4 separate regions of the Homo sapiens genome follow, and regions 2, 3 and 4 are each linked to region 1. The links are contacts of gene promoters, found by promoter capture Hi-C in blood cells and fetal thymus (Javierre and others, 2016). All regions are on one chromosome and are shown on one strand. Each heading gives the region's core, a stretch centred on a gene start or on the middle of the fragment in contact. The rest is flanking DNA. Distances are from core to core; before and after follow the strand shown. Region 1 holds the start of TPM3 (tropomyosin 3). Region 2 overlaps GATAD2B (GATA zinc finger domain containing 2B). Region 3 overlaps TDRD10 (tudor domain containing 10). Region 4 overlaps SHE (Src homology 2 domain containing E).

What was found. Contacts are between HindIII fragments. The CHiCAGO score rates a contact against its expected background, and 5 or more counts as called.
Region 2: a contact is called between a fragment that was not itself captured here and the fragment with the promoter of TPM3 in region 1, in 2 of 17 cell types (naive CD8 T cells and naive CD4 T cells). The highest score is 6.2, in naive CD8 T cells.
Region 3: a contact is called between a fragment that was not itself captured here and the fragment with the promoter of TPM3 in region 1, in 5 of 17 cell types (M2 macrophages, endothelial precursors, M1 macrophages and 2 more). The highest score is 8.8, in M2 macrophages.
Region 4: a fragment that was not itself captured here is called in contact with the fragment with the promoter of TPM3 in region 1 in 1 of 17 cell types (M2 macrophages); the score reaches 8.9 in M2 macrophages.

Annotation. Positions count from the first base shown.
Region 1 is chr1:154,189,645-154,194,454 of GRCh38, forward strand. TPM3 (tropomyosin 3) reads right to left here and starts at 2,456. Exons shown (of 10, transcript NM_152263.4): 1 at 2,258-2,456; 2 at 1,542-1,667. The coding sequence starts at 2,374. MIR190B (microRNA 190b) reads right to left here and starts at 4,099; the gene lies at 4,021-4,099. The HindIII fragment of the contact is 3,875 bases long and covers 1,593-4,810 here.
Region 2 is chr1:153,814,878-153,819,687 of GRCh38, forward strand. It overlaps GATAD2B (GATA zinc finger domain containing 2B), which reads right to left. Exons shown (of 11, transcript NM_020699.4): 3 at 4,729-4,810; 4 at 3,914-4,045; 5 at 3,163-3,294; 6 at 2,495-2,665; 7 at 1,396-1,711. Among named protein-coding and RNA genes, the nearest start is that of SLC27A3, 42 kb to the left of the region's middle. The HindIII fragment of the contact is 887 bases long and covers 2,331-3,217 here.
Region 3 is chr1:154,531,331-154,536,140 of GRCh38, forward strand. All of the region lies in intron 6 of TDRD10 (tudor domain containing 10), which reads left to right. Among named protein-coding and RNA genes, the nearest start is that of UBE2Q1-AS1, 20 kb to the right of the region's middle. The HindIII fragment of the contact is 1,517 bases long and covers 1,959-3,475 here.
Region 4 is chr1:154,476,532-154,481,341 of GRCh38, forward strand. SHE (Src homology 2 domain containing E) reads right to left here. Exons shown (of 6, transcript NM_001010846.3): 6 at 2,950-4,810. Among named protein-coding and RNA genes, the nearest start is that of TDRD10, 23 kb to the right of the region's middle. The HindIII fragment of the contact is 5,610 bases long and covers 1-4,810 here.

The DNA of each region.
Region 1 (4,810 bases), core at 1,206-3,705:
TTAGCCAGCCAGGCATGGTGGCACGTGCCTGTAATCCCAGTTACTCAGGAGGCTGAGATAGGAGAATCGCTTCAACCTGGGAGGTGGAGATGGCAGTGAGCCGAGATAGTACCATTTTATTACAGCCTGGGCAACAAGAGTGAAACCCTGTCTCAAAAAAAAAAAAAAAAAAAAAAGGAAAAGAAAAGGAAAGAAACCGGATGGCAGAGAGACCAAATATGAGGATCCGAAAGCATTTATGAATGGTTCACTCTGTCTGTCCTTCTAGCTATTTTCCAAAACCAAATGTGATTTTATTTTATTGACTTATTTTTTGAGACAGAGTCTCTCTCTGTTGCCCAGGCTAGAGTGCAGTGGTACGATCTCGGCTCCATGCAGCCTCCGCCTCCTGGGTTCAAGCGATTCTCCTGCCTCAGCCTCCTGAGTAGCTGGGATTACAGGCACCCGCCACCACACCTGGCTAATTTTTGTATTTTTACTAGAGACAGGGTTTCACCATGTTGGCCAGGCTGGTCTCAAACTCTTGACCTCAGGTGATCCACCCGCCTCGGCCTTCCAAAGTGCTGGGATTACAGGCGTGAGCCACCGCACCCAGCCCAAATATGATTTTAAATATTACATGCTCCTTTTTTCCTATTAACTCAGTTCACTGAGAAACTTGTTTCCACCAATACTGGGACATTTCTGTTGTTGTTGGTAAGATTCCTATGGTACTTTTCTTCTAAAAAACTTTTCAATCTACTCTCTCATTTATCTTTGCAGCAAACTTCAAGGTTAAAGATGAAGGAAAGTAGGTGATGATGATGGGATAATATGAGATGGAAAAGAGAATTTATTTTATTTGAGAATGGGAAAATTCAGCCCTAGACAAGCTGAGTAATTACTCACGGTCATAGAGTGAAGTCTGGTGGTGATACCTTTACCCCCTAAGATTCTTTCTTAGTTTCTATTATACTCTGTCACTGTAGGGATCTCTCTGCTGCCCTAGGAGCAATGCTTCATATGGCATCTCCATGGCATAAAGGCAAATGCCTGCATTGGCCAAGATAAATAAACCCATATATGGCCAGGGTCAGTGTGACCTCCATTTCCCATTGTGAAATCCGAGCTGGTTTTGTTGGACAGTTGAGAGATGAGAGGTTCCCTATTAATACACATATCCACATGCCAAGACTTGGACATAAAAGCTAAGAATGTGGCATGGGGGAGGAGGTAGGATAAGTGACAGCATTCTGAACTTAGAGTCCCCTCTCTTTGTCCAGGTCCTGGGAAAGATAATTAAATTCCTGGGTTGGTGATAGGAGATAAATGAGACCTTTACATGTATTAAAAAAAAACTTTTAACATGTTGGAGATGTCTTTAAGAAAGAAAATACATGCCATTATGAGAATATACCAGCATGTGGTTATATGCAAAAATGTATGTGAGTATATATGTCTGTGTTCCATGAACCCACAAGTGTGTTTGGAATTTCGTCATACATTAACATAAAGATCTATATGTGTAGATTAAACCCATCCTCCATCTCTCTAATACTCACATCAGCAGCCTTCTTCTCTGCCAGTTCCAGCTTCTCCTGGGCATCCTTCAAAGCTTCAGAATACTTGTCCAGCTCATCCTCTGTCCCTTTCAGCTTCTTCTGCATGGCTGCCAGCTCATCCTCCAGCTATAGGAGCCCAGAGAGTCACACACAAAAACACACAAACACAACAATGCAGGGTTGGACCCTGGGCTCTTGGAGCCCTGAGTGTAACCTCCATGTTACCATCCCTAGTGAGACACACTTTCTCCCCAGCCACTTCCAGCCCACTGCCTCAGGAGTTATGCCGTAGCTTGGCCTGTGACCCTGTAATCTCTGATCCTAAGATGACCAAGCCATCCTGGGTTTTCATCCAAGACCCCTGGATGATAAATATCTAAAGTGTAGATGCCCGTGATGCTATTTGAGTGAAAAGAGATGCTCTTTCCCTCTAGAACTCTTACCTTTTCCTCTAGAAGTCAAGGGTTCTTCCAAAACATGGTCCATTTCTACTTAAATTCAGCAGACATACTGTGGCTCACTGACTTTCCCAAGGTCACAAAGGCAGTCTGAGACAGATATGTTAGATATCCTCTGCTCCTCCAGTGAGGCTGGGGAGTCCATCCCACCCCCAAAAAGGAGGTGACACCAGTAGTCACTGTCTTTCCCATGAAAACTCCCTTCCATTTCACAGTCTTGTTCACTAGCAGATGAGAGAGATCAATGCCAGTGCCTACCTGTTTACTTCTTTCTTCTGCCTGCTTCTGCTCAGCTTCAGCTTGCTCTGCCCGATCCAGAGCATTCTCCTTGTCTAACTTCAGCATCTGCATCTTTTTCTTGATGGCCTCCATCATGAGCAGTGGCTGTTGGTAGGCTCACCTGTGAACACTGGAGAACTGGAGACTGGGGCAAGAAAGAAGGGGCTGCTGCCTGAGTGACCAGGAGGTCCCCAGACTTGAGTCTTTATCTGTGCTCATAGCTCCACCTTTTGTTCCTAATATGGTCTTTCCAGCTCCCTCCACCCCATCATTGTTCTCCTGGGGGAACACAGGGTGAGACGCTTTGATGAACTGACATCACCAGCAAAAAAAATATCTAGCAACAGCTGAGGCTGATTTTAGACAATGGAAAGTGGGGGAGGGAAGAGGTTCTCCCTGACCCTGAAACTTTCCACTCATTCTGGGCAGCTCTATGGATGTTTTAAAAGAAGAGGAAGAGGGGAGGGAAGAACATTGAAATAGAGAAGTGTACTTTGGCAATTCTAGGTTGGCAGTTTGCATCCAGGGGGTCCTGGTTGCCTTTCAGCTTCCCGTTTCACTCTCCCCCAGACTGTGTTGAATGCTGGTCAAACTCCGTTAGTTGAGTTTTAGCTTTTGATTCCTGGTATTCAAGGAGCTTGGGCACAGGGAAGAGGGGAGGTCACTCATGATCCTTAACAATTCTCCCAGATCCCCAGATCAAATTGCTGTGCTATTCTGGGAGTCTCCGATTGGCAGGGAGACGTTTTTCCTCCCCACCAAGAGCCACAAGAGTAGAGTAAGAGGTAGGGTTGGAATCTCCAACCCTATCCTTGAAGGCTATCCCAGAGCTTCAAGTGGGGTGGGGAGAGAAACAGGGGAGGGTCAGAACAATCCAGACAGGATCATACCCTTTGTTTTCCCACAGTAATCTTAAAATAGAACTGTTGTACCCACACAGACTTTGGTCTGTGTGGCTCTCTCCTCTTCTTCCCTTTATCTTCTCCCTTCTTAATTCTCCCCAACGCTGCCACTCACCACATCATCGTAATCATCATTATCAGCTCTATTCTTTCCAGTTTAGTTCCAGACCATGTTTATTCTTCCATTGGGAGCCTTGTTACTAACAGGTGGCAAGGATACCAGTCCACTGGCACCATACACCTGAAAATATGCCAAGGGAGAGGTGGGCACTGTTCAAGGTGACCAGATATATTGGACAAATATAAATGGCTCTAGTTAGTCATTTATGTCAGGATACTGAGAGTTAATGCTAAGCCCCAGCAATGGGGGAACGGAGACACCCACCAGGCCAGTGGGTAGAGCAGAGCTGGAGTCCACTATTGAGAGCTTCCAGTCACTAGAGGTAGATAGGCAGATAGACCATCAGCTGACTCTCGACAGAGAGAGGAGAAACCAAGTCTCCTTTCTCTGGAGATTAGCCAGGGAAAGGGGTTAGGGAACAGGGAGAGGAAGGAGTGGAAAATGGGGGGGGGGTGGGCAAGTGAATAAGGGGGAGAAAAATACGAGGACAAGAAAAGGCAAAGAAATGTCCCTTCTAGTATAAGGGGACAAGAAATAGAAAGATTCTATCCTCAAATTCCAACTCTCTCCCATTCCCACACCAGCCCTCTTAGGTTAAGATTGAAATGCACATAGGTTGCAGCTACTGGACTTTTGGGGGGGTCCTGGAGAGAAGAGGTTCAGTAAAAGAGACAGGAGCCCCAGAGATTGAAGTATGAAAGAGGGTGGTGCTGAATCACCTGCTGCTGTAAGAATATGTTTGACATTTAGTTGGTTCCTAATTAAACAACCCAATATCAAACATATCACACAGAAGCAGGCAGGAGAGCTTTGGGGGTCATCTGCCTTCCTTCCAGTTGCAAAGAAAGAATAGAGCAGACACCAGGCACCAATCATGTCTAGGTGGAGAGCCATCTCCTTGAGGAAGGGTACTGGCTCCTGCTCTTCACCTCCCAAGACAGCCAGCTCTTGCTTATTGTCCTACGTGTCATCCCTGCCTCAGCTCCTCCTCTACAAGCTCCTGGCCTTTGCTGGATCACGTTGGCCTAAACCAGGAAGAATACCTGGCAGGGCTCCACATCCGGGCAACTATCGTTCCCTAGAGCTCCCACACAGAGCTTCTCACCCTGATGTCACGGCCCCAGCGCCCAGAGGATCAGCCGTGTCAGCAGCTCCTCATCAAAATTGCCACCTGCTCTCTTCAATGCCATTCCAGCTGCCCTGAGGCTTTCCGGGGTGGGGGCAGAGGACTTGTACACCCTGCTTTACCTTTCCAACAGAACTCCTAACCTTCCCAGATCACCCCCACAAGACTACTGAGGTCCGTTCAGGAGGCACCATCCTGGCACCGTCCTGCTCTTAAGTGCTGCAGATGCTTGGCTTCCCCTTTCTGCCAGCTTAACCCTTCTCACCTTCTCCCCATGTCCTCCAGGCATCCTCCTTAAAGTCACCCTTGGATGTCCAGAACAGAAGAATAACTTGTCTCCCTGGCAGGCTCCATCGTGGGCTCCAGAAGAGAAGACTTATAGT
Region 2 (4,810 bases), core at 1,524-4,023, 370 kb before region 1:
AGGCAGGAATATTGCTTGAACCCAGGAGGTGGAGGTTGCAGTGAGCTGAGATCATGCCATTGCACTCTCTAGCCTGGGCAACAGAGCAAGATTCCATCTCAAAAAAAAAAAAAGAATTGCTTGAAACCAAGAGGCAGAGGTAGTCAGCCAGCTAAGATCATGCCACTGTACTCCAGCCTGGGTGACAGAGTAAGACTCTGTCTCAAAAAAAAAAAAAAAAAAAAAAAAAAAAAAACCAACAAAGAAAAAAACTGGCATGGTGGTGCATACCAGTGGTCCCAGTTACTCAGGAGGCTGAAATGGGAGGATGGCTTGAGCCTGGGAGGTCAAGGCTGCAGAGAGCTGAGATCACACCACTGCACTCAAGCCTGGACAACAGGGTCAGACCCTGTCTCAAAAAAACAAAAAAAAAAAACAAAAAAAAAAAAAAGAAAAGAGAAGTTCTATTTATCAAATTATGCAAGCATCATGCTAGCCACCATTTAAAAGAACTAAACAAAATACAGTCAGTCCTCAATGTTGTTGACAGGTTCTCAGAGACTATGATTTAAGTGAAACAACATACAACAAAAACAATCTTTTTTTTTTTACTAATGTTATAATAAAATGATGTTATTTGAGGACCCCCTTCACCGTAGTTGTTTCACTTAAAGTCACAGTTTCTAAGAAACTATTGATGATGTTAAGTGAGAACTTACTGTCCTACAAAAAACACACAAGATAGATAAAATCCAAATAAAAATATCAAGCCTCAATGATAGCTGACCTGCTGAAGGGAAAAAAAAACAAGCCGAAAGATAGATGATAGATTAGATAGAATAGAATAGATAGATTAGATAGATGATAGATTAGATAGATAGATAGATACATAGGCAGGCTGGCCCCGGCCGGCTGACGGGGTACAGTGGCTCATGCCTGTAATCCTAGCACTTTAGGAAGCCGAGGTGGGCAGATCACCTGATGTCAGGAGTTCGAGACCAGCCTGGCCAACATGATGAAACCCCGTCTCTACTAAAAATACAAAAATTAACCGGGTGTGGTGCCACGTGCCTGTAGTCCCAGCTACGTGGGAGGCTGAGGCAGGAGAATTGCTTGAACTCAGGAGGCAGAGGTTGCAGTGAACTGAGATTGTGCCACTGCACTCCAGCCTGGGCAACAGAGCGAGACTGCATCTCAAACAAAACACACACACACACACACACACACACACACACACACACACACTCCGCTTCTAACATGTTGCTCCCAAACAGCTGTAAAGAAGGGAGGGAGGTGGTTTGGTAACAGGAAGGAGAAGTTATTTAATATTGTACAGTACCCTCTGATACTCTGCCTATGTCAATCAGGCTTGGCAACCACTTGCTTAAATAGATTGATTAGAAGAAACAGCCTTACCTTGGCTGTCAATGACACTCTGTACGACTTCTTCCAAGCCTACCATGTAGATGAACTCGCTATTGGCTGCACTAGGCAAGAAATGAAGTAAGGGAGCAGGAGGTTTAGGGGGTGGGATCTCCAGGAGTGTCTTTTCCAGCTGTTTGCGAAGAGCCAATTTGGCTGCAGCCTGTGAGTTGGCAGCATCAGTCATGGCGCTGGGGCTAGGAAGTGGCGAGGACACTCTGTTCACCGTCCCTGGCTGGATATGAGAAGCAAGGTTCATATAGATGGCAGAGGATGTTGTACGCTGACATGGAACAGAAGAACTTGACTGCTGAAATAGATTGAGAATGCGGTCAATCATGGTATGCAGGAGAAAGGGCCAATTCTTACGTTCTTGGCAGAGGACACTGTCTGATCCTGGTTTGGACTACTTAGCTTCTCCAAAAATAGGAGGTGGTCAACTTATTTATTGAAAAAGAACTCTGACACATAGGAAAGGAGAATGATGATGACCATGAGCTAACATTGCTAAGAGAGAAATAAAGGCCACGCGTGGTGGCTCACGCCTATAATCTCAGCACTTTGGGAGGCCGAGGTAGGCAGATCACTTGAGGTGAGGAGTTTGAGACCAGCCTGGCCAACATGGTCAAACTCTGTCTCTACGAAAAATACACAAAATTAGCTGGAAATTCCTTGAACCCAGGAGGCAGAGGTTGCAGTGAGCCAAGATCATGCCACTGCACTCTAGCCTGGGCAACACAGTGAGATTCCAGCTCAAAAAACAAACAAACAAACAAACAAAAAAGAGACAGAAATAAGATTTTGCTTTCTGTCACACATCCTTGTGCTTCTTATTCCCTAGATCACTCTCTTCTAGGCAGATTTTTAGCTTACTGCTGCTCTGCTGTATAACCTCTCTCCTCCACTACTATTTTAATATAATTCCTCAAAGCTTCTACTTTTGGGACTGCTCTCAATTAAATCCCTACCAAAATAACCATTTTTGTCCTAGAGTTTATCTATGTATAAAAACTTAAAACCTATGGCCCTTTCGACAAGCAAAGCAAACAAAGGGATTTCTCTGTTTCCACATTAGGGCTCAGCTCTCTCTTACCGGTTGATAATTGATGGCGGGATTCATGTTGGGTGTTGTGGTGCGTACAAGGCCAGGCTTAGGCGGGCCCCGCTGACCCTGTAGCTGGGCTGGGTTTGGTGCAATAACACGTTGAGACATCAACATGTGTGGAAGGGTGGTATTGGTAGCTGAACGGATGACACTGTGACCCTGGAGGGGAAGAAGAGGAAAAGAACTAATCACAGGTTGTACGCTGTGTATAATACAGCACAAAATGCAAAAGGGAAAACACTGCCTATAATACATAGCTAAGTAGAAACACAGGAACACAGCCAGACTTGGTAATTTCATTTAATGGTCTATGGGATAAATCTACCATCATTGTAAACCCTGATTAGTGGCTGGGAAGTCCTTGGCTTTTTTTGGTATAAACTATCTAATCCTATAGGGTTAGATAGAAAACTATCTACCCCTTCTCTAGAGAAGCTGGAAGCATTCTCTAGACAAGAAAAACTACAGTGGAAACATGAAAGTTACTCATCCTTCTACTGAAGACTAAATCATGCCATAATGGGCCAACAGAACAATCAGTAGTAATAACACCTCTATCATGGCCAGGTTCTTCTATAATCTTCACAAAAGCCCAAAAACAGAGACAGGATTAGACACGGCCCTCCAACACTAAGATCCCACTATGGGTCACATACCTGTAATGTTCTCAAATTTTGAGGTTCAACCCCTTGGGCCCCAGGCCGAGAGGGAAGCTTAGATAGGCCCTGCTGTCCCACATGGGCAGGAGATGGCTGAACAATAGATGCTGCATTCTGTACAACTGGAGTCTGGGAGAGGGAAGAGAAAATAAGACTGTGGCCAATAATCACAGGTGGAAATTTGGTACATTTCTAGACTTTAAAAATTCCTGGTCAGTGTGAGGTTCTTGTCAATCAGGAGGAAAAACCAGAAAAAGGGAGTCAAGGTTTTCTTTTTTTTTTTTTTTTTTGAGACAGAGTCTTGCTCTGTCGCCCAGGCTGGAGTGCAGTGGCCTGATCTCGGCTCACTGCAAGCTCCACCTCCCGGGTTCACGCCATTCTCCTGCCTCAGCCTCCCGAGTAGCTGGGACTACAGGCGCCCGCCACCATGACCGGCTAATTTTTTGTATTTTTAGTAGAGATGGGGTTTCACCATGTTAGCCAGGATGCTCTCGATCTCCTGACCTCGTGATCCACCCGCCTCGGCCTCCCAAAGTGCTGGAGTTACAGGCGTGAGCCACCGCACCTGGCTGGGAGTCAAGGTTTTCTTAAGGCCTAAGATTAAAAAAAAAATCACTACTACTACAGACTAAAAAACTACGGACCCAGAGAAGAAATGAGCCACCCAACTGAACCTACCTGGGGGAACCTACTCTCAAACCAGTTTTTCTTTCCTTTCCCTTAGTCCCTTATTTCTAGGGCACATTACCTTCTGGACCACATTCTCTTTCTGTAGCTGACTCTGTCTCAGTTTCTTTAACAGGACCAGTCGGGCTTCTTCCAATCGTAGCTCATCCCTCAGCTGCTTGATAAGCTGCTGCCGCTCCTCAATGCCTTTCCCCTAAGGAAACAAGAAGACTTTCAGCTATGGCAGCAAGGTACCCAGAATTCCTTCCTGCAAGAGACAATCTTTACTTCTTAGCTCTGAAACCTTCATCTTCCACAAGAAGCAGAAGTGGCAATAGGATTATCTTTGTATCACTGGAGTCTGGCACAGTGCCTGGCATTCAGTAGGTACTCAAAGAAATGCTTACAGAATTAAAGGACAGACCACGTATAAATGCTAATCAGCCAGATTCCTGGCAAAAAGAAGAATGACTAAAGAGAAACATTGTCTTCTTTTAAAATAATGTTCCTAAATCTCTTAAAGCCACATTTCCTCTAGATATACATAAAAACTTAGGAATCCCTTCATATTCAGTTACTTAGGTTAGAGTGCAGAAAGTATCCTTACAGCCAAGAGTTTACTTTATATGACTTAATTATGAACTTTTGTTTTCATTTTCCAAAGATAAATAACACTGAGTATAATGGCCTACATATATGCTTTTCAAACTGTCGTCTCCACTTGCTTCTAATAGTTCCTTTTGAAAGCCCTTGAAGTCAAGAGTTACTATAAAGTTTTCATCAATGGGTATTTATATCCAAAGAGTAAATAGTCAAAAAACAGAACTAAATCTCTTGAGGAATTAAATAAAATAGAAGGAGCATAACAAGAAGAAAGAAATTTTTCTTTCTTTTTACCTTAAACATCTCTAAGTTGGCTGCTTTGAGTCTTTCTTCCATTCTGGAACTGGAACGGGGACTGGAAGCCTCATTGTCAGAC
Region 3 (4,810 bases), core at 1,467-3,966, 340 kb after region 1:
CTCACTGACTTCAAGAATGAAGCCGCGGACCCTTGCGGTAAGTATTACAGTTCTTAAAGGCAGCATGTCCAGAGTTTGTTCCTTCTGATGTTCGGATGTGTTCAGAGTTTCTTACTTCTGGTGGGTTCGTGGTCTCGCTGGCTCACGAGTGAAGCTGCAGACCTTCGCAGTGAGTGTTACAGCTTTTAAGGCGGCACATCTGGAGTTGTTCATTCCTCCCAGTGGGTTCGCGGTCTCGCTGGCTTCAGGAGTGAAGCTTCAGACCTTCGGGGTGAGTGTTACAGCTCATAAAGGCAGTGTGGACCCGAAGAGTGAGCAGCACCAAGATTTATTGCAAAGAGCGAAAGAACAAAGCTTCCACAGTGCGTAAGGGGACCCGAGTGGGTTGCCACTGCTGGCTCGGGCAGCCTGCTTTTATTCCCTTATCTGGCCCCACCCACATCCTGCTGATTGGTCCATTTTACAGAGAGCTGATTGGTCTGTTTTGACAGGGTGCTGATTGGTGCGTTTACAATCCCTGAGCTAGACACACAAGTTCTCCACCTCACCACTAGATTAGCTAGATACAGAGTGTCGATTGGTGTATTCACAAACCCTGAGCTAGACACAGAGCGCTGATTGGTGTATTTACAATCCCTTAGCTAGTCATAAAGGTTCTCCAAGTACCCACTAGACTCAGGAACCCAGCTGGCTTCACCCAGTGGATCTCGCACCGGGGCCACAGGTGGAGCTGCCTGCCAGGCGGGTGCTGTGCGCCCACACTCCTCAGCCCTTGGGTGGTTGATAGGACCAGGTGCTGTGGAGCAGGGGGCGTTGCTCATCGGGGAGGCTCAGGCAGCGCAGGAGCCCATGGCGGGGTGGTGGGGAGACTCAGGCATGGCGGGCTGCAGGTCCCAAGCCCTGCCCTGCGGGGAGGCAGCTAAGGCCTGGTGAGAAATCAAGCGCAGCACCAGTGGGCCAGCACTGCTGCGGGACCTGGTGCACCCTCCGCAGCTGCTGGCCTGGGTGCTAAGCCCCTCACTGCCCGGGGCCGCTCTGAGTGCGGCCCGCAAAGCCCACGCCCACCCAGAACTCTAGCTGTCCTGCAAGCACCGCGCGCAGCCCTGGTTCCCACCTGTGCTTCTCCCTCCACACCTGCCTGCAAGCCGAGGGAGCCAGCTCTGGCCTCGGCCAGCCCAGAGAAGGGCTCCCACGGTGCAGCGGCGGGCTGAAGGGCTCCTCAAGCGCGGCCAGAATGGGCGCCGAGGCTGAGGAGGCACCGAGAGCGAGCGAGGGCTGCGAGGGCTGCCAGCACGCTGTCGCCTCTCATTTTTTTCATTCCATGTGAAATTTTCCTGGTTCTTGGTATGATGAGTGAGTTTCACTGGAAACTTGGACATTTTCTTGTTACGTTGCTAGACTAGATTTTGTATACACCTTGTGTTTTAACTGGCTTCCTCTGATGCTGCTCCCACAGGGGAACACGGTACTGCCTCGCTGCTGCCAGGTGAGGATGGAAGTCAGGCTCCCTACTCAGCCTCTAAGGCGGCAGCGAGCCCCTTGTTACTGCCAGTTCTAGTTTGTGGTCTCCACTGACATCTTGGCGTGGATGGCTTCATTACCGCTGAGGAAAGTCTTGACTCTCCACTACACTTCTGACACCCCCCCCAGTAGGGAGAGAGAGGGGGGCTTTCTCTCTGTGAGGTGGGTATGGAAGTCCAGGATTCCCAAGTGGTTTCTATTGACACCCAGGCAGGGTGGTGGTAGGGAGAGACCGGTTTCTTTATTGGGTAGGGGATGAAATTCCTGGCTGCCTGCTTGGCCCTTTGTGACACCATCAGGGTGGGGGTATTGGGCGACTCATCCCAGCCCCATGAGGGCAGAAGTCTGGGCCCTGCATGCTGTCTTTGTTGGCATGCGTGGAGGTGGGATCTCCTTGTTGGTGGCATTTAGCTGGAGTAAAGGAGTTATTATCTACAAGCTTTCTGTCTTCCTAGCCTGTCTCTTCTGGTGCTTTGGCTAGAAAGAGCAGGCTTTTGTTGGGTTTTTTTTTTTTTTTTTTCTGGACCTACTGGTGTTTCTGGGTTGCTGGCCTCTTCAATTCTAAGTTTGGAATATATAAAGCAAAAGGAAAACCCAGAGAAGTCATCACCACGTTGTACCCTGGGTTCCAAGGTCTCTGGTCAGCCTGTTCCCTTCTCTCCATCTTTCAGAGTCTTCTTATGTTTGTTTTACATGTAATGTCCTGGGCTCTTAGTTGTGTTTAACAAAACTAAGATGAAGTATGTATATTTCATCTTCTCAGAGTGGAGGTTCTAAGAATGGTTTTTATTTATTTATATTTTTAGAGCAGGGTCTTGCTCTGTTGCCCAGACTGGAGTGCAGTGGTGTGATCTGAACTTACTGCAGCCTCGAACTCCTGGGCTCAAGCAGTCCTGCCTCAGCCTCGTGAGTAGCTGGGACTACAGGCGTGTACCACCATGCCCAGCTGATTTGGCCTCAAGCAATCCTCCTGCTTTAGCCTCCCAAAGTGCTGGGATTGCAGGGCAGCCACTGTGCCCAGCCATATATATATATATATATATTTTTTTTTAATTTTCTATTGTTTGTAGAGATGGGGTCCCACTATGTTGCCCAAGCTGGTCTTGAACTCCTGGCAAGCAATCCTCGTGTCTCCACTTCCCAAACTGCTGGGATTATAGGCGTGAGACCCCCCAGCCGTATTTTTAAATGGGAAAAAAAATGAAGAATATTTCATGACACATGAAAATTGTATGAAATTCAGTTTGTGTCCATGAAACATTCCTGGCATGCAGCCTCAGCCATTTGTTTACAGATTGCCTGTGGCTGCTTCCTCACTACAGCAGCAGAGTGGACTCATGACAGACAGTAAGGCCCCCAAAATCTAAAATATTTACTATCTGGCCCTTTGCAGAAAAAGTTTGCCAGTTCCTGGGTTAAGATCTAGGCTATTTTTTAAAAAACAAAAATAAACAGGATGAAAATGCCTGGAAATCAATGCAAGAAAGAAACAACCTAATAGAAAAATGGGCAAGAGCTAGGAATAGGCACCTTTTGTAGGTGAAGATGCATAAAAGCCAGGCTGCAACTTTCCCGTTGCTTACCACGAGGTGGCAGTTTCTGACAACACCTGGTGGTTTTCCATAGCCTGCTCCGATCAAGTCAGCCACCTTTGATGCTCCTGGTTTCCATGGCTTTGCCCATCCTGGTAGAACTATCCGCTGAAGGAGTGGGGAGTGGGGAAGCCCCAGATGCTCACTGTTTTCGTACAAAGGTCAGTCGTTGTTGTTATTGTTTTCTTTTTAATAGATGTTTTCAATTTCTTGTATGCTTCAGTCAATTTCCAGAGTCCTGAAGTGATTGTTTTTGACAATTTGTCAAGATTTGTTATTGCTTTTTGGGGAGAGGATTTGTTGATTGAAATATTTTGTAGTGAAATTGTTTTAAAGAAAAGAAAAGGTAAAATTAGAAGATAAGCTTACGTGGCACAACACGCATCCAGGCAGTGTTCAGGTCAGCGTGGGGGAGAGATTATCAAATGATATAAGATAATTTCCCATGGGTGAAGGATGTGAGTTTTCAGATACAAAGCAGCCAATGAGTGCCCAGGATAATGAATGGGAAAATAAAAACCTACATGAAGGCACTTTACAGAAGTATTTTAGAATACTAGGGATAAAGCTTTAGGAAGAGAATCCACATTGAAGGATATGGAATCAGGTGGTGTGATTGAATTCTTCAGGAAAATAATATCCAAGCCCAAACAAGTCAGTCAAGAATAAGGGTAGCACTTTGGGAGGCCGAGGTGGGCGGATCACTTGAAGTCAGGAGTTTGAGACCAGCCTGGCTAACATGGTGAAACTCCATCTCTATTAAAAATACAAAAATTAGCCAAGCGTGGTGGTGCACACCTGTAATTCCAGCTACTCGGGAGGCTGAGGCAGGAGAATCCCTGGAACCTGGGAGGCAGAGGTTGCAGTGAGCTGAGATCATGCCACTGCACTCCAGCCTGGGCATCAGAGTGAGACTCCATCTCAAGAAAAAAAAAAAAAGAGAGAGAGAATATAAGGGTAAGCCATCTGCAGTGGTGTGTACCTGTAATCCCAGTGCTTTGGAATTTGGGATTTGGGAAGCTGAGGTGGGAGGATTGCTTCAGGCCAGGAGTTTGAGAACATCCTGGGCAACCCTGTCGACAAAAAATGTGCCGGGTGTGGTGGCACACACATGTAGTCCCAGCTACTGGTGAGGCTGAGATGGGAGGATCACTTGACCTGAAGGAGTTTGAGGTTGCAGTGAGCTATGATTGTGCCAGCACTCCAGCCTGGGTAACAAAGTAAGACACTGTCACTTTTAAAAAAAGGTTGAAAAAGACTTGCTCAGAAAGATAGGGTCTCAAAAAATGTGTGCCCCATGTACCTGTTCTCAGAAAGCTATGAAGGAGTGTGTTCCAACAAAAATGAATCAGTAAGCCAAAACAAGACGGGATCTGGTATCCAACCCAGATCCAAGAGGAGAGAGATGAGAGGCTTCCCAGATTGGCCAAAGGCAGTCCTGGAACAGTTGCTGTGCAGCAGGCAGTCCAGGGCAGAGCAGGACGGGGTGAGACTCCAGCGGTGACGTTGGCAGGAAGAAAAATGTAAAATTGAGAGGAGCGGTATTATGAAGAGCCACTGGAGGTTATAGGAAAACTTAGCCAAAGATTCAAGGAAATCCAAGTAAATGGACTGGGGAAAAAGCAGCAGTTAATTCCTAAGAAAAGGTTGCAGGCCGGGCGCAGTGGCTCACGCCTGTAATCCCAGCACTTTGGGAG
Region 4 (4,810 bases), core at 1,007-3,506, 290 kb after region 1:
ACTCAGGAGGCTGAGGCTTGGACCCGGGAAGCAGAGGTTGCAGTGAGCCACGATTGCATCACTGCACTCCAGCCTAGGCGACAGAGTGAGACTCTGTCTCAAAAAAAAAGTAAAGCAATCCAAAATAATCCATACCGTCTCAGAAAAAAAAAAAAGTAGAATAAAGCAATCTGAAATAATCCACACCTTTTTTATCTTTTAAGTAAAATATGTTTCTTGCCAACAACATGCTGGTTGATAGCTTGATCAACAAATTGGCTTTTATGTGCTCATCAAGTAATAATTTATCTTTCCCTCAATCCAAATTAGTAAACCTGTTTATTTATGCACATAAATTAGAAGGCAATCATTTAAAAATGTCATGTAGAAAGTATTTTAAATTTGAATCAAGACATTACAGTGATTCATACTACATGATTCACAAAGGGGAAGTAATTCTGGTGCTACCTGTGGATTCTGGAAATGATAACCTCATGCCTCACACTGAATCTCCTCAAGGTATGTTTATCAGAGCTTAAATGACCTTCAGGACTTCACACTACCCAGTTCTACAGGCAGAGCCTCTCCCAAGCAGGGGAAAGGCTGCCTAGGCCCATGGACACAACTTGCCAGACCCAGCAGAGGATTGTCCTGGAGGTGGAGATGGATACCGAAAACCCAATTCCTTTTTCCCTTGCTCTGAGTCCATGTGCCCCTCTATGGGTAGAGAGCACATTGATCACACAGGTGACCTGAATGTCCAGTCTGCTAGATGCATTTCCATTGTAAGATAATAGACTGGCATTTTTGTGTGTGTGGTAAGAAATGCATTAACATAAAATTTACCATCTTAACCACCTATTTTAATTTTTTTTATAAGAGATGGGGTTTCACCACGTTGCCCGGGCTGGTCTCGAACTCCTTCGCTCAAGTGATCCGCCTACTTTGGCCTCCCAAAGCCCTGGGATTACAGGCATAAGCCACTACACTTGGCCTATGTTAACCATTTCTAAGTGTGCAGTTCAGCAGTGTTAACTACATTCATATTGTTGTGCACCCAATCTCCAGGACTTTTCATTATCTCATGCAGAAACTCTGGGCTGGGAATGGTGGGTCATGCCTATAATCTCAGCACTTTGGGAGGCCAAGGCTGGTGGATCACATGAGGTCAGGAGTTTGAGACCAGCCTGGCCAACATGGTGAAACCCCGTTTCTACTAACAATACAAAAATTAGCTGGGTGTTGTGGCGCATGCCTGTAGTCCCAGCTACTTGGGAGGCTGAGGCAGGAGAATTGCTGGAACCTGGGAGGTGGAGGTTGCAGTGAGTTGAGATTGCACCACTGCACTCCAGCCTGGGCGACAGAGCAAGACACTGTCTCAAAAAAAAAAAAAAAAAAAGAAAGAAAAGAAAAGAAAACTCTGCACTCATTAAACAACTCCCCATTTCCTCCTTCCCCAGCCCCTGGCAACTACCATTCTACTTTCTATGAATTTGACTACTCTGGGTACCTCATGTAAGTGGAATCATACAGTATTTGTCTTTTTGTGACTGACGGGTTTCACTCAGCGTAATGGTCTGTGTCAGGATTCCCTTCCTTGTTGAGGCTGAATGATACTCTGCTGTATTGCCAGCGTCAGTTATGGGAGTAGCAAGATAATGAAGCACACCCTGCCCAGTGGCTTCCAGAAGTTCCTGGTCTACAAGGTCAAGGAGCCGGAATGAAGCGCTGCTGATGTGCAACAAATTATACTGAGCTGAGATTGCTCACAATGTTTCCTCCAGAACCACAAGGCCACTGTGGAGCGAGCAGCCCCGTGGGCCATCAGTCACCACTCCCAAGGCCAGGCTGTGCAGCGAAGAAAATGAACAGACAACTCAGTCTATGTTTTGTTTTTAAATGAAATCATAAAAAGTGCAAAAAAAAAAAAAAAAAAAACACTCTAGAGTGAGACCTGGGCCGCAATCTGGGCTCTACCACTTACTATGACTGACCCAAGACAAGTTATTTCATCATTCTAAGCACCCGTGTTTTTATCTGAAAAACAAGGTTCCCACCTGGCTGAGTTGTGGCAGATTAAATGAGATGCTGTATGATGAAAAGCATTTGTTCAGCAGCACACCTGGTGCGGAAAAAGAGTCTATTCTCACTACTTACATCTTGGCCTTTCACAGGGTCAGAATCCAACATTCAACACTCAAACCCTGGGTGCTTGTAAACACGTGTTCAATCTGAATTCTGAAAACCATTACTCTAATTGCTCGGGTGGTGGGTGGCGGGAGCATTTCTTAATGCAAACTTCCTCTTCTCTTAAACACAGATGGGTTAAAACAATAGGCACTTGTTCCACCTGGTGGCAACTTACATAAATGTTTAATGGAAGTTAAAAACTTGAAACCATGTTAGGAATTTTGGAGGGGAAAACTTTTTGATAGCAGACTCAACAGTATGCCCTTCTAGGACCTGACGTGAATTTATTTGTGCATTTCCAAATAGGAGCTTCCAACAGGGCTTCTCCACCATTGGCTGTGTATCCAAATCACCTGGTACAATTTTTTTTTAAAATAGGTTTTTGAACTTTGCAACAGACTTAGGGCATCCCACAGATGGCATGGGACATTTGTATTAATAACAAACTGATAAAAACAGAAGCAGAGCCCAAATCTTCTATCTAGTGAGGGATGAGAACCAGTGCACTAACTTTCGACTCAGGAAGAGATGGGCCAGGAAATGGCAGTAAAACATCACTGTATTACTATTTTACTTGGGAAGAAAAACATAATAGAAGGACTCTAAATGTGAACAGAGTAAATAAAAGATAGAATCTGCTGGTTATGTTCCATCATGGTGTTTCTATATTTCATTAATGGTGACTGCAAATGAAACTCTGCTGTAGCTCTTACCATGGGAAGTATTTTTCTGAAGGAAGATGATTCTCAGAGCTAACTGAATTAAGCAAAACCACTGTAGTTTTCTTGGAATAATGTTTATTTAAAGTTACATTTCAGAGGAAACTATCTTCAGGAGGGCATGAAGCCTATATTGGCTACTGCAAAACAACCAGAAGTTTTATAAAATATTTCTGATTTAAATTACTAAGGCACTATAGATAGACACCTATATTACATACAATCTTCAAACATTTTTAAAAGTTGAAACTATGTATTAGTTGATATCTAAAATATTAAAGCCCCTGACAAACTGAACGGCTAAGAACTTGACAAAATGAGACGCCTGTTTCAATGATTCTGTTGCCAGCATATTAATTAAAATACAATTTGAGATTCTAAATTACACGATCCAGCCTTAGTCCAGGGACCTTGTGATGATAGTTGTATTAGACTTCAAAACACCCTTTCCGCAGGAAAGGGCATTTTTCAAGATGGCAACTGCTGTGTCATCATTTTCCCTTTTCTGGACTGTATCAGAAATCCTTCAGAAAGCCCTACCCTTAAATGCACAGCTGCTTTTCCCAACTGCAGTTTTCTCTTTTCCCATTAGATGGCAGTAACGCACCATCTCTCTTCACACAGGGTCAGCGGTGGAGGGTAAGTTGAACAGAAGGCCCACTGCACAGCAGGCCAAGTTTCTCTAGTCCACGTTAGTGGGGCACAAAAATTGGAAATGAGAATACAGAAGAGTGATTCTAACCAGGTCATAAGGCCAAACTAGTGCTAGTTATGGAAAAATAGGAGACAACTAGTGAACGAGAGATCTGTGAAGGGTTTCAGTGCAATCCTGCTGAGTGTCAAGGGGTGCGGGGAAGGGAAATGAAATCGACATCACTGCACTCCCTAAACCCTGGAAGGAGGGAGAAACAAGGGGCTAACCTTTGACTGAAAAAGGGCATCTGACAGAACAGAAACTAACCCCACTTAACCCGCAACTGAAGAATGCCTCACAGTTATTCTTCTGAATATCAAGATGCATCCAGTAACAACAGCCAATAACAGACTAGTAACAGAGTTACATAATCCAATTAACAAATTAGGACAATTTCCCACCACCTGCCTCAAAAACTCCTGGCTGCCCCTATCAGCTACCTGCCCACCTCCCCATCCTGCGGCAGAGGCTAGTACACAAATACCAATTCTGCAAAGTACGGAGACTTCCAACAGCAAAGAATAAAGGCTTTCTAAAATGCTTAAGAAAGTGCTTTGAATAACTTAAAATGACACTTCTGCCCCCAACAGAGAGTAGATATATCAATATTTACCTTTTTGTATACATATTAACACTTCTCCATTATTTTATTCCTAGCTTAAATACACACAAGGCCAGTGGTTTGCAGGCCATCCTGAGATACAACTATGGTATCAAAGTAAATAGCAAGGTCCTTTACTCTCTCTTCTTATAGGCCTGAAACTAACCAACTGAACTTGTCCAGTCATCGCAAGCAAGTATTTTTTTTAAAGAAGGTGTGATCAAGAAGAACACTGACACAGCTCTATGGATGCTAAATTCAAGGCAAATTCACTGAAAGACATTCTTCTCACCAGAGAATATCCTGGGAGATGGAATAACTCGAAGGAATGAGGACTACAGGAAAATACTTGTCTCAAGACAAAATGACAAAAAGCCAGAGCATTCAGAGCTCAGAGAACATGTCACAGAGCTTCAGATCAGCTGGCCATGGAGGTTTAACAAGGAAGCCATTAGGGACACCCTGCTGGGCCTAATTGTTTTTAGAACATATGGAACTTTGTGCCACCACACAGCTGTGAACTCCCTGGCTTTTGTCAGCTTGTGTCACAACCTCAAGAAGAAAATAGCTCACTAACGCCCCCACCTCTGACTTCCCACTAATTTACTATATTTCTTCTTATAACCT